Regions from separate parts of the Homo sapiens genome. Here all the other regions are linked to region 3. Evidence: promoter capture Hi-C in 16 types of primary human blood cells and fetal thymus (Javierre and others, 2016). All regions are on one chromosome and are shown on one strand. The core of a region is centred on a gene start or on the middle of the fragment in contact, and the rest is flanking DNA. Distances in the headings are between cores, read along the strand shown.

What was found. The method cuts DNA at HindIII sites, captures the fragments that hold promoters and counts their contacts. A CHiCAGO score of 5 or more calls a contact.
Region 1: a contact is called between a fragment that was not itself captured here and the fragment with the promoter of ELK3 in region 3, in 1 of 17 cell types (total CD4 T cells). The highest score is 5.2, in total CD4 T cells.
Region 2: a fragment that was not itself captured here is called in contact with the fragment with the promoter of ELK3 in region 3 in 7 of 17 cell types (non-activated CD4 T cells, naive CD4 T cells, fetal thymus and 4 more); the score reaches 8.4 in non-activated CD4 T cells.

Annotation. Positions count from the first base shown.
Region 1 is chr12:96,413,522-96,417,433 of GRCh38, reverse strand. No RefSeq gene overlaps it. Among named protein-coding and RNA genes, the nearest start is that of CDK17, 15 kb to the right of the region's middle. The HindIII fragment of the contact is 2,544 bases long and covers 303-2,846 here.
Region 2 is chr12:96,396,010-96,400,157 of GRCh38, reverse strand. It overlaps CDK17 (cyclin dependent kinase 17), which reads left to right. Exons shown (of 17, transcript NM_002595.5): 1 at 1-172. Among named protein-coding and RNA genes, the nearest start is that of CDK17, 2.4 kb to the left of the region's middle. RefSeq lists a silencer at 156-315. The HindIII fragment of the contact is 590 bases long and covers 2,043-2,632 here.
Region 3 is chr12:96,192,743-96,196,669 of GRCh38, reverse strand. It overlaps ELK3 (ETS transcription factor ELK3), which reads right to left and starts at 2,295. Exons shown (of 5, transcript NM_005230.4): 1 at 1,965-2,295. RefSeq lists an enhancer at 920-999 and a silencer at 2,331-2,470. The HindIII fragment of the contact is 11,050 bases long and covers 1-3,927 here.

The DNA of each region.
Region 1 (3,912 bases), core at 325-2,824, 220 kb before region 3:
CTTATATTGCATGTAGCTAAAATTGAAAGAGCAAAAAGTGCTTCTAGGCTTAGGTATCCCTTGGTTTGATATGCTTTGCTAGAAGGTTATGAATGTGAAAGCCAGATTGCTTACTGAGCACCTTGATTCTGGCTCATGGCAGCTAGCAGAGAAAGAACTGAAAAAACAAAAACAAAAACACAGTTTTATATTATATTATCCTAAGAATTCATGAGACAGTGTGGTGGTTTTGTTGTTGCTATTGTTGTTTGTTGTTTTGTGAAGAAGATTCAATCTGAAAAGGCTGGAATTTTCCAAAAGCTTGTATTTGCCCTAACACTTCCCATCCTGAAACATCTGACAAGGCTTCTAATTGCATTGCTAGGCACAGGAAGCCACATGTAATGTAAGCCTCGTACTTTTTAAATGGTCAAGTTGAATTATGACTTGGAATAAAGGAATAATAGGGAATTAGCCCCTTTGCCAAATAAAATACTCTATTCTGAATTTACTGACATTTCATCTATTATTCTGAATTAGAACATGGAGTAACTTGCAATTATGCCATTTCTGTTTGGCAAAAAAGTGCCATATCTCAGTTCAGTCATTTTCTAATGCTTATCTGTCATATATGAGTTGAAATTTTTAAAAAGAAATTTTGTTATTCCCTTTTGGAAACCTCAAAGGTTCTGAATTACTTAAAATGGTAGAGAGTTACTTCCTCAAGTAAAAACTCTAATTGCAAACAGAACCTTGAGACTATAGTACACATGCAATGTTTGGCAATGCATCTGGTTTTTCTGCTTTGATGAAGAAAGAAGCTCAACACGTCACTATGTGTCACGGCTTTCTATAGCATCTTGCAAAAGCATTAAAGTCCCTGCCAATAGTCCTGAAAGATGTTTTACCTATAGCTGCAGACGTCATCAATTTCTCCAGATCCCAGGCTTTGACTCATTGGTGTTTAAAGAGATTTTTGTCAAGAAATAAAAGCAGAATACATGAATAAGGTAAGGCTTTTGTTCAGCATAAGATCCTGAGGTTGCCATTTTGGAAACCGACCAGAAAAAAAAAAAAAATCTGTGAGTCCTTTTGGCTAAGTTGCCACTGAGGGAGAGGAGATTGGGAACAGACAAATATGAACAACTTTTCCACGCCGGAGGATATTCTCCTGGCTCTGTTTAAGAGTGATGAAACATGTTGATTTCTCACAAGGTAGAAATCTACAGACTTCCGGAAACACTGCAGAATACCTCTAAAGGTTAAACTGGTTTGACCTTAAAATTGGAATGGTTATTTTAACCATTTTCTTGCTGACATATGCAACATAGATGATGCAGACTTTGCAAAGATGACCAACTTTGTAGATGTGAGGAAATGATGCAACTGCATTAGCTTGAAGGGTCCTAGAGAAATCCAGTGCATCTGGACTTAAACCTATTCATTTGCGACAACATACTTTTGTTAATCTGGGCTTTCTTACATTTGTTGCTATCAAAATTGATAGACTTACCACAAATGACAAGCATATTACCATGTAAGACTATGCTGTAATTTCTTCTCAAGTCAAGTAATGGCAGCCTTTATGTTGAAATTTGCTTTGGGGGAAGAATTTTAATTTTTTTCTTTTGTATTTGCTCACTGAATTTATTTTAGATTACTCCATTTACGTGAATAAACAAGAATGAGAGAAGAAAATTTTTTATAGGATTTTTTTTCTGTGTGAAGAAGTCAATTTCTAATACAATAAGATAAAATATGTGCCAAAATTAGGCGGGATGTTTATGTGCATTTTTGTGAGAAAGTGATTCTTATCTTTGATCAGGTCAAAAGAGGTGAATGACCCTCTCCCACCAATAAACAGGGTTAAGAATTGCTCGTTTAAACACCCACTTTAGGCTGGGCACAATGACTCACACCTATAATCCCAGCACTTTGGGATGCCAAGGCTGGAGGATTGCTTGAGTCCAGGAGTTTGAGACCAGCCTGGGCAAAACAGTGAGACCCCATCTCTACAAAAAATACAAAAATTAGCTGGGCTTGATGGCATGCACCTGTTGTACCAGCTACCTGAGAGGTTAAGAGGATACCTCGAGCCTGGGAGGCAGAGGCTGCAGTGAACTATTATCATGCCATTGCACTCCAGCCTGGGAGACAGATGGAGACCCTGTCTCAATAAATAAATGGCGACTTTATTTTATAGTGAATAAGTGAAGCCCCTGGAACATCAAACATTTGCCTAAGGTGACACAGCTAGTAAGTGTTAGGACTGGAATTTGAATCCAGTTATCTTATGTCTAAGGCGTAAGAGACATGTACTATATGAACTACTATATATGTAGCCATTACATTTCCTCAATGGGGCATCCCATAGTGACATAAGAAAGTTATTTGGAACCAGAACAAATCAAACCAAACCAAACCAAAACAAAACAAAAAAACAACCAATAAAACAAACAACAAAATTATGTGAAAGTGAAGTCTTTTGTTCCAAATGTGTGACTATCAGATTTTCTCAACCTTGACTTCCAACCTGTCCAAACCTGTGCTAACTGCCAGCTGCTTGGAAAATCCATCTGCCACCTACCGCATCTTGTTCCTGCTTGTTTTTCTTCTTTAATGACAGATGTCCCAGTTACAAATCCAATAGCAGATTTAAGCATCTGAAATAACCAACACCAGCCTTTACCTGGGTGTGTCTCTATTCTCAAAACCCAAACTCTGGCTTTTCCTGGTGTGTCACTTTGCCATTGTCTGAACTCTGGATATAATACTTTATACTACAGTTTGGTGAGTTCTTGGGGCTATATGTTGAAATAAACCCATTGCTTTAAAGAGAAAAAGGTACAGGAAGCTAATTTAAAGCTTTTTTAATTTTCAAGTATAAAAAAGTCATACATTTTCACATTTAATTCAATAAAATATCTTTTCATAGCCTGAATTTTTTTTTTTTTTTTGAGTTCAAGAATTTCTTTTTTTCTTTCTTTCTTTTTTTTTTTTTTTGAGATAGAGTCTCACTTTTGTCACCCAGGCTGGAGTGCAATGGTGAAATCTCGGTTCACTGCAACCTCCACCTCCCGGGTTCAAGGGATTCTCCTGCCTCAGCCTCCCGAATAGCTGGGATTACAGGCATGCACCACCATGCCTGGCTAATTTTTTTTGCAGTTTTTGTAGAGATGGGGTTTCACTATGTTGGCCAGGCTGGTTTCGAACTCCTGACCTCAGGTGATCTGCCCGCCTCAGCCTCCCAAAGTGCTGGGATTATAGGTGTGAGCCACCGTGCCCAGCCAAGAATTTCTTTTTAATTGCCGATCAAAACAACAAAAGAGAGTTGAGATTTTGACTCTTGGTATTTCCTGTCTGCCATTTCGAAGATGGGGTAGGCTATTTGAATTACATCTGCTGTTAGTATATGAACAATAAATAACAACATTAGCTATCAATATCAATATGGTGCTGTGATGCTGAGAACTATATAAGCATTGCCTCTGGCCTCCTTACAATCACTTTGCAAAGCAGAAAGTATTATCCCAATCTGCAGATGAGAAAATGGAGATCAAAGAAGTTAAGTGACTTGCTAAGTAGGAATACACGGTTATAAGTGACAGAGTCAGAGTTGGAACCCAGGAGCAAATATTTTTTAAAAATTCATATTAAGCCCAGCATGTGGACAAAAACTTTCTTTTCATGAATGAGTATAATTTAAAGGTAGTCTAGGAAAAACAGGTACCTACTGCTGGGAATCCCAACGGCCTTTGTTAGTTCCCAGTCCAATTTCCCCACTGTAAGCAGGAATCCTTTAGTTTGTAGCAGCAGTGGGTGAAATCAAGGTGGGTGGTTTGGGAGAATAAACTAAAATGGACATCCCATCTGGGAAGTTAATAGTATCCAGGGAAATGGTGGCAGAGGCAGCCATCCCTGTATCTGATTTCT
Region 2 (4,148 bases), core at 1,088-3,587, 200 kb before region 3:
GGCGAGAGCCGGAAGGCGGCTGTGGCGGCGGAGGCCTGCGCTCGGAAGCGCCTCACGTCTGCCGGCCGCTGAGACCCGGACTTGCATCCGGTCGCCGCGGGCGTCCGCGGAGCAGCTTCCCCCCGCGCCTCTCTTCGCCTCGCCTCGGGACCCGCGGTCCCCGCTCTTGCTGGTGAGTTGGCGGCTGGCGTCCGCGCCGCGCTTTCCCCTGGTGTCGGGTCGGCCGCGGGGCCGGGAGGCTGCGTGGGACAGAGGCGGGGGCGGGGGCTACTGGGGGCGCGGGTGGCTCAGGCCCGGTCGGGAAGTTGAGCGAGGAGGCGCGGCGCGGGGGGCTAGCGTGCGCCTGTCACCTCTCCGGTCCAGCGAGGACCTTGGGTCGCCCGGGGATTTCCGGGGCTCGGGTGGGGTGTGAGTGTCTGCGAGCTGCTTCCCAGGAGGCGCCGACAGATATAGACGCCGCCGCCTCCGGTGCTCGCTGCCGCTTTGGTCTGCGGGGGAGGCCGGTCTCCTCGCGAGGCGGAGGAGGGGAAAGAGGCAGAAAGTCCCCCGAGACACAAAGGTCCCCTCGGCGGGGGTGGAGCTGGAGGCGCAGGCGACGCTGCCCGGGAGGGGAAGGAAGGGGCGCGGGTCCGCGGGAGGTGGGCGAGGAGGCGGCGGTCGCGGCGCCTGCAGCTCCTTGGAGACGCTGGCGCTGTGCGCGGGTGGGGAGCGCGGAGGAGGAGGAGGAGCCCGCGCGTGGGAGCGGGTAGAGACAAAGATCAGGGCAGCCTCCTGCTGGCGGGTCACACCCCGGAGTGTTGGTCAAGAGCGGAGGTAGAGGGAAGGTGGGAAACCCAGCAAACCGATGGGGAGGGGAAAATGGGGGGAGGAGGGTGCCTAGTGCTGTCTCCGTCGCAGTTGCTTTTCTCAGCATTTTTGTGCCCGATGCTATGCCCGATGCTTTTGCTCCCCAACTCAGCTGGATAGCTCCAGATTCCCTCCCTCCTGTCACCCCCACACTGCCACATTGACTCTCCTGTGGTTTTTCCCTCGTTCTCCCCCTACTTTTCACCCACTCCTTTTCGGGTAAGCAGTATTTTGCTTTCAGCTTGGGGAACATTTGTTAATGACAGGATGTCTGAGCTTGTTCTGACCCTGAACTGCCTTGAACTTCTCTCTCTTCCTCCCACCCTTTCCTTTTCTGGGATCTATAATGTCACATGGCCGTTAACAATTAGCTTTTCTTTTGCAAAAGTGGCAAAAAGCGTTTAGCTGAAATCTGTGGCTCTCGCCTCCTTTACATGAATATGTCCACCAAAGACACCTCGTTGGTCATGTTCTATCACCTCTTCGTCAAATTGACATCAGGTCCTAACAGGTCACTTTCAAGATACAGAAGAGGCAAATTTTGTTTTGAGACTTGGCCATTCCTAGGGTCAGCAAAGTGTATTCCTGGCAGCCAGACCTTCAGTCACTTATCAGGAAATGCTTGACCTAAAGACAGACAATTCTTTCCCCAAACTTTGCTGTTTCTTTTTTGAGTCTTTGTTGAAAGATTTCTTTTAAAAGGCGTTCGTGTGAGAAGATCACAGCAACAAATCTGGCTTGTTCTGTTTTAGACTTACTTTCTTAACTCTTGGGCAGAAGAAAATGAATGAGATTTGAAGACCTTTGATACCTTGGGTAGACAAAGCTTGCCTTGAAACTAGAAATAAGACGAAACTAGATTTTAAGGGGAAAAAATTTGCTAGTGGTAATATAATTGGTTTTGTTTCATTTTTTTATGAGTCTGAGGAGTTGACATTAAACGTTGGGATGTTGCTTTGTTAATGAAGTCATTTCAATTTTTGCAACTCTTAACATCTGCATGCTTCCATAAACAGTGGGTTGGAACAAAAGAAAATGTGACTAAGGGATATTCCTTAAATTCTTTTTTATGTTATGAGAGAGAATATTGGAATATAAAGAATGTTACTTTATCTGGTAAACCATCTCATAGGCCAGAAGCACTAACAGTTTGAATGGTTGGCTTAAAAAAAAACGGGAGTCTTTGAATTTAAGCTTATGTAAAATTACTATGCAAATATAGGTTATTATTTATTTTTACAGTGAAAATAAAACACTATTGAAGTATAAATGGAAAGAAAATAAAAGCAAAGCCTGTTTAATATAGAGACATTAATGTTGATATCACTGTACGAACAGTCATAGCTTGCTGCTCACTGCCGTTAAAGGGTTGACATACAAACATTGTGGAAGAGATTTCAGTTTGAGGGCTAGTGTCTGAATTATGGACTCCTTACCCTACTCCACCACTTAAAACATTTTAGAGACTTTTGTGAAATTAACAGGTCATATAATTAATAATTGTTGTTTTATGTACATTTATTGAAAGGCCATATTGAGGCTCCATTGATTTTTTTTCCTGCATATTTATCAGTATCGAATTAGAAAATTGAACCTTCAGTGTTACTAGATGGAAATCTACCAAAAAGTAGCAAGGTTTACGAATGGTGGGATTTATTGGTGATTAAACATTTTTTTCCTGTATTTTATAAGTTTCACATTACATTTACAATGAGAAAAAAATGTAAATGTAGAATTAAAGTCTTGTTAATATCGTAATTTGCCTATTGCTGTACTAAAAGAAGCTTCTATAAAATGTATCATTCTCATCCTTAGATTCAGGCCAGAAAGTAACTTTCAGTGTTAGGTATTTGAAATAATGCAGCCTGTCATATGTACTCTGGTTACCAGAATGAAAAAACAAAAAGAGATACATACATAGTAAGGAAACATGAAATTGGAGGAATTGATCCCCATGTGTATTGCAGCTTCATATACCAGTAGTCTCTAATAAGTCATTGCTTTAATAAAAAAAAAAATAGAAAATTTAAATTTTATTTGCCCGGTAGCACAGGGATAGCTATGTTGACTAAGCGCAGATTTTAACGTATATGTTTGTTGATATATTTAGTTTTCAGATACCAGTTCAGTCCTACAATTATGGCGAAACTAGATGGCATATAAAATCATTTTGTTGCTTTGTTGAGGCTTGTTTTTTTCCTTATTTTCAGCAATATTTTCCTTCTTTCCTTTCACTGAAAAACAATGCAACTATTTTATTTTGAACAATGGAAGCTGTAATGGCAACTGGGGTAGCTATTCAAAAGTGGAGATGACGATGTCCCTTAATATTATAACAGTTATCTGTGAACACAAAAATTTTTACCCTATGATTTTCTTTGTTATTGTCTACTAATGCTGAATATTTATAAGACATTACATTTTGAATCTTTATTGATGTTTCCTAGTCTTTAGAAAATTTTACCGTCATGGGCTAGCATTCTTTTACATGGCATTTAGATTTCCAGGATGTTCTTTGTATTTTTTGTTTGTTTGTTTGTTTTGTTTGTTTTAGACTTTCAGGATGGATAATTACTTTATTGCTATATTGTAAAAATTATATTCTCTAGGGAATTTTACCTGTTTAAAAAATTGTCTCAGTTTTCATACATGGGAAGGATGAATAGTTTTAGGTTCTTTTGAATTTTGAATGGATAATTTTTGCCTAAACTTTTAAACAGGAAATCGGTATTTAAAGTATATTTCATAAAGTGATAATGGCATTTTGCATTTTAAATGCAGAAGATAAACAATAGGTTTATGGCATTTAAAAATGTGCTTTATGTAGCATTTTTGAAGTTAAAAAAACTGCCTGTAATAGCGAACCTAGTGTAGTTCACTAGCATTCAATCTACAATGTTGGCAATTTCTTTGAACTGATGGGGAGAGGACCAGTTAGACTGGCTTTTAAGAATTTTTATTGTCATCAGTGGATTCTTTGTCATTATTTTGCTTCCAATATAGTTAGTTGGTGGTTACTTTTGATATCTGCAAAATATTGACCTGGCAAGAGGAATTGCCAAGGGCCAGAGAAGTGTATTGAATATACCTCAGTGTAGTTTATTGTTCCCAGCCTGTCTGCCTCTCCCTGTTGGCCAACATGGAAAATCAATAGACATCTACCAGTAAATCTAATAAGTAATGTTACCGTGTTCTGCAGTAACCTGCAATACTGAATACTGTTTGAGGATGTAGATTTACAGATCTATGGCATATTGGGATGAGGTGAAAATTATCTTGCTCTCCAAAGTCTCCTTTTGAAA
Region 3 (3,927 bases), core at 1,046-3,545:
GCAGGATCATTACTGGAAACTCTAAGAACACTTATGGACAGTCTCCTTAACTGCCTGACCCATGTGCCCTCCTAACACAATTTGTAATTTTATCATCCTCATAAATTGAAACTCCTAACTGACCTTTTCCAAATAAATGGGTGCCATGGCGAGAGAGAAAGAAAAAGAGATCAGAGGGTATTTTGTAAGGCTCACAAATCGATTTCGGCTCATGAATAGATGCCTGGAACATGCTCCACACCCCCCCCACCCCCAAAGACAAGCACAGATGGAGAAGATGGGTGTGTGTGAGCTGCTTATCTCCCCCCACCTCTCAACACACATACACACGCGGGAAAGAAAAACCTGCAAATCTGAAATCCAAAATGGCCAAAGTGACTTCAAAGTTTTCAAGACATGTCCTGAAAAGGCTCGTTGGGCGGCTGCACCCCTAAGTAAATAAAGCCATAACTTGTCTCCTTCCCCAGCGCCGGGCTCCCAGGCTGACAGTGGCTGCACAAAACCCCTCCTGTGCCGAGCAGCGGAAACTCCTAATGAGATTAGTTGGTGTGTGTGCAGACATTACTTAGCAATGACTAAGGGGGCTCTCTCTTCCTGCAGCAGCCAGTGGAAAATTCAAGGAACTTTTTCCCCCTGCAGCAGCAGAATCCCTTTAACCCTCTCCGCAGCCAACTCCAAAAACAACTCAGCCTCCCCTTTCCCCGCCACCCCCAGGCTGGAGGACTGGGGTGGGGGTAGTTAAAGACCGGCCAGGGGCTTTCAAATGAGGGAGGGTGGGAGGGGGCTGGCGGGGAAGGGGCGGGGGACCCCTCGAACACTACAAAGGAAACTGTAAAAGGCACAAATACATAAACCTAAGAAGGAGCAAACCACAGTTTCTTTGTGAGCTCCTCTAGTGAGTCATTTTCAAGATGCTGTCTGCTGCCAGTTTCAAAGCGGAAGCGCATGGCAATTAGTCTTGCCGTTTCCAGACAAGCCAGAAACTCTCCCGACACTCGTTTTTTTTTCTTTCTAAAAAGCCCCTTTTGCAGTTTCTGAAATAACATTTCTTGCTTCCACCTCCACCCGCCGCCTAACTGCAGCTTGTCCCTAGGATGATTCGGTTCAGAAAAGATAACAAAACCAAGACCTTTTATTTTTGCTTTTTAACTACTCCAAAATCTTAATCCCGCCTCCCCAAAAGTTACAGTAGCGTCACAGGCCAACGTTGAGTTCGAAGGTAAACAGGGATGGGGAGTGGAAGGGGCCCCAAGATCATTTCTTGCCTGGTCCTTCTCCAAAACCATGCCCAATAGAGACCACCGGCTTTTAAATGTCCGATGGGGCGTGCGCCTGGGGCGGTGACCTGGGCGGGGGTCACCTGCCAAGCGAGAGTGGACGCAGCCCCCAGCCCCACACCTTCGCGACCCATGTCCTCCACCGCCCTCTCCATCCCTGTCTTCCTCCCTGGATCCGAGCACCAGTGCACTTTGCCCACTCGAGGGGAGCCTGACTGCGGTCCCAGCTGGAAGGTCGGCGGTGGTCCAGCCTCCAGGCACTCAGCCTGCTCCTGCCACGGTTCTTCCCAGGGACCCGAAGTCTCGCCGTCCCCCGCTCCCCGCGCTGCCTGCAGCGGGGCCCTGGGCGAGCTCCCAGGGTTGCACGCCCGGCGCCCCTTCCTCTGGGGTCGCAGCGCAGCCCCAGGGAGGGGAGCCGCGGGCGCAGGGTCCCCGCAGCCCCGGGCCCGGCGCGAGCTCGGGCGACGGCGGTGGCAGCGACGCGGGCGCAGGAGCATCCGCGGCGCCCCCTCCCCGCGGCCGGCCCTCCCGCGCGGACGCACCGCCACCCCCACCCCGGCCCGCAGCCCACCCCGCGGCGCCCCCCGCCCCACCCCCACCGCGCCCAAGAAAAGAAAGAAAAAAAGAAAACACCCCCAAACAAACTTTTTAAGTGTCCGAGCAACAGGCAGAAGCCCTGTTACCTACCCAGATGTGGGGGAGTCTTCTTCGGGGGGAATTTCTAGGAGGACCCGGGCGAAAGCCCCCGACTTTCCATGCTGACAGGCGTCTGCAGACGGTCTGTGGCTCTTGTAATGAGATCCTGATTTTTCCCCCTTTTTTTCTTTCTCTCGCTCCTCTTTTTTTTTCCCCTCTGGTGTGTGTGAGAGCAGGAAGTTGGAGCAGTCAGGCCGAGCCGGCTCACTTCCTTTACTGCATTATTCCCCAGGCGGTGTGCAGTCTGTGTAAACAGGCTTTTCCGCCCCGCGCCGCGCGCCCCGGCCGCGGCTGTGCGCCGGGGCTGGCCGCCCAGGCCCGCGCCTCCCCCGCCGCCCCGGCCCCGTGCGCGCCCCGCACCGCCCCCACCCGCCCCGCTTCCTGCGCGGCCACCCCGGGGAGGAGCCTCCGACCCGCGGCGACTCCGCGCGGCCGCAGCCCCTCCCCACGGGGAGGGGGGTCCGCCCGCAACCCGCAGAAGCCGCCGCGCTTCCCGGGACACCGGGGATCCCTCCTCACCTCAACCCCTGGGGGTCGAGCGCGCGGGGCACCACGACGGGGTCGTGCCCTGCGCAGTTGGCCCGGGAGGGGGGTCCCGAGGTGGGGAGGCGGCTGGACTCGCTGTTTCCCATCCGCTGGGATGGAAGAGTTGGGGGGCAGAGGGGAATCGAGAGTGGGGTTCAGGGTTTGGTTGCTCTGGGCAAAGGACTGCTTTTCTTGTGGGTGCGGGCACAGTTTCCGTCTGGGGTTGGAGATGGACACCGTTCCTGTCTGGGTTTTCGGTGTTTTAAAAGCCAGCCCTCGGCCGGGCGTGCTGGCTCACGCCTGTAATCTGAGCACTTTGGGAGGCCAAGGCGGATGGATCACCTAAGGTCAGGAGTTCGAGACCAGCCTGGCCAACACGGCGAATCCCCGTCTGTACTAAAAATACCAAAACAACAACAACAAAAACAGCCAGGTGTGGTGGTGGGTCCCTATAATCCCAGCTACTTGGCAGGCTGAGGCGAGAGAATCGCTTGAACCTGGGAGGCAGAGGTTGCAGTGAGCTGAGATCGCCCCATTGCACTCCAACCTGGGCAACCAGCGAAACTCCGTCTCAAAAAAATAAAAAAGCCAGCCCTCAGTTGGGGGGCGAGCCTGTGGGGAAAGGATAAGGAGCCACAACACTGGAAGTCATGGAAATAATGCCCGCAGGGTCAGAGACTGAGGCTTGAAGGGAGCCTCTGTGGTCTCAGAACTGGTCTTCACACCTCCACATCCCTCAAGGAGGTCCTGCCTCTGAGGGCTCAGGCCAGGCTCTGATGGGAGAGCCTGCCCATTGCCCTAGGCTGAGACAAGGTTGGGGGGGATGGCTGTTGAAGAGCCTCTCCCTTCCCAGGCCTGCGCCCCAACCTCACTGCTCACCTTCCAGAACCTTCCATTCCCATGCCGCCACTTAGCAGCCCAGACCCCTGGTTTTCAAACTTGACCCAAGGGGCTTGTTAAACCACTAGTGGCTGGGCCTCTCCTGGAGTCCCAGATTCAGTAGGTCGGGGGTGGTTCCGGGCCCCGGCTAATGTCAGAATCACCTGGGGAGTGTTTTGACACTCTCCAACAATATACTCAACCCAGGCCAATTAAGTCAGATTCTCTGGGGGCCGGGTGTGAGTCCTTTCAAAAGGACCACATTCTAAGAGTTCCTCCACTACGTTTGTTTCTAGTTTTGCAGTCTCTCCTGAAAGATTATTTTGTTTACAAATTTCTCACTGCCATCAACTGTGAGCTGCTAAAGGGCACGGGGTATGTTTTACTGATTAGTACCACATCCCAGCTCCAAGTGCCTATCAGAGCACACAGGTGATAGGAATTTCCTTCGGGCATTTGCTTCAGGGCTCCTGTGGGTAGTCCACTGGAAAGGGTGGGAGAATGCCCTCCAGACCTCTGAGAAGGAGTGGGAAACCCGTGGGGTGTAGGG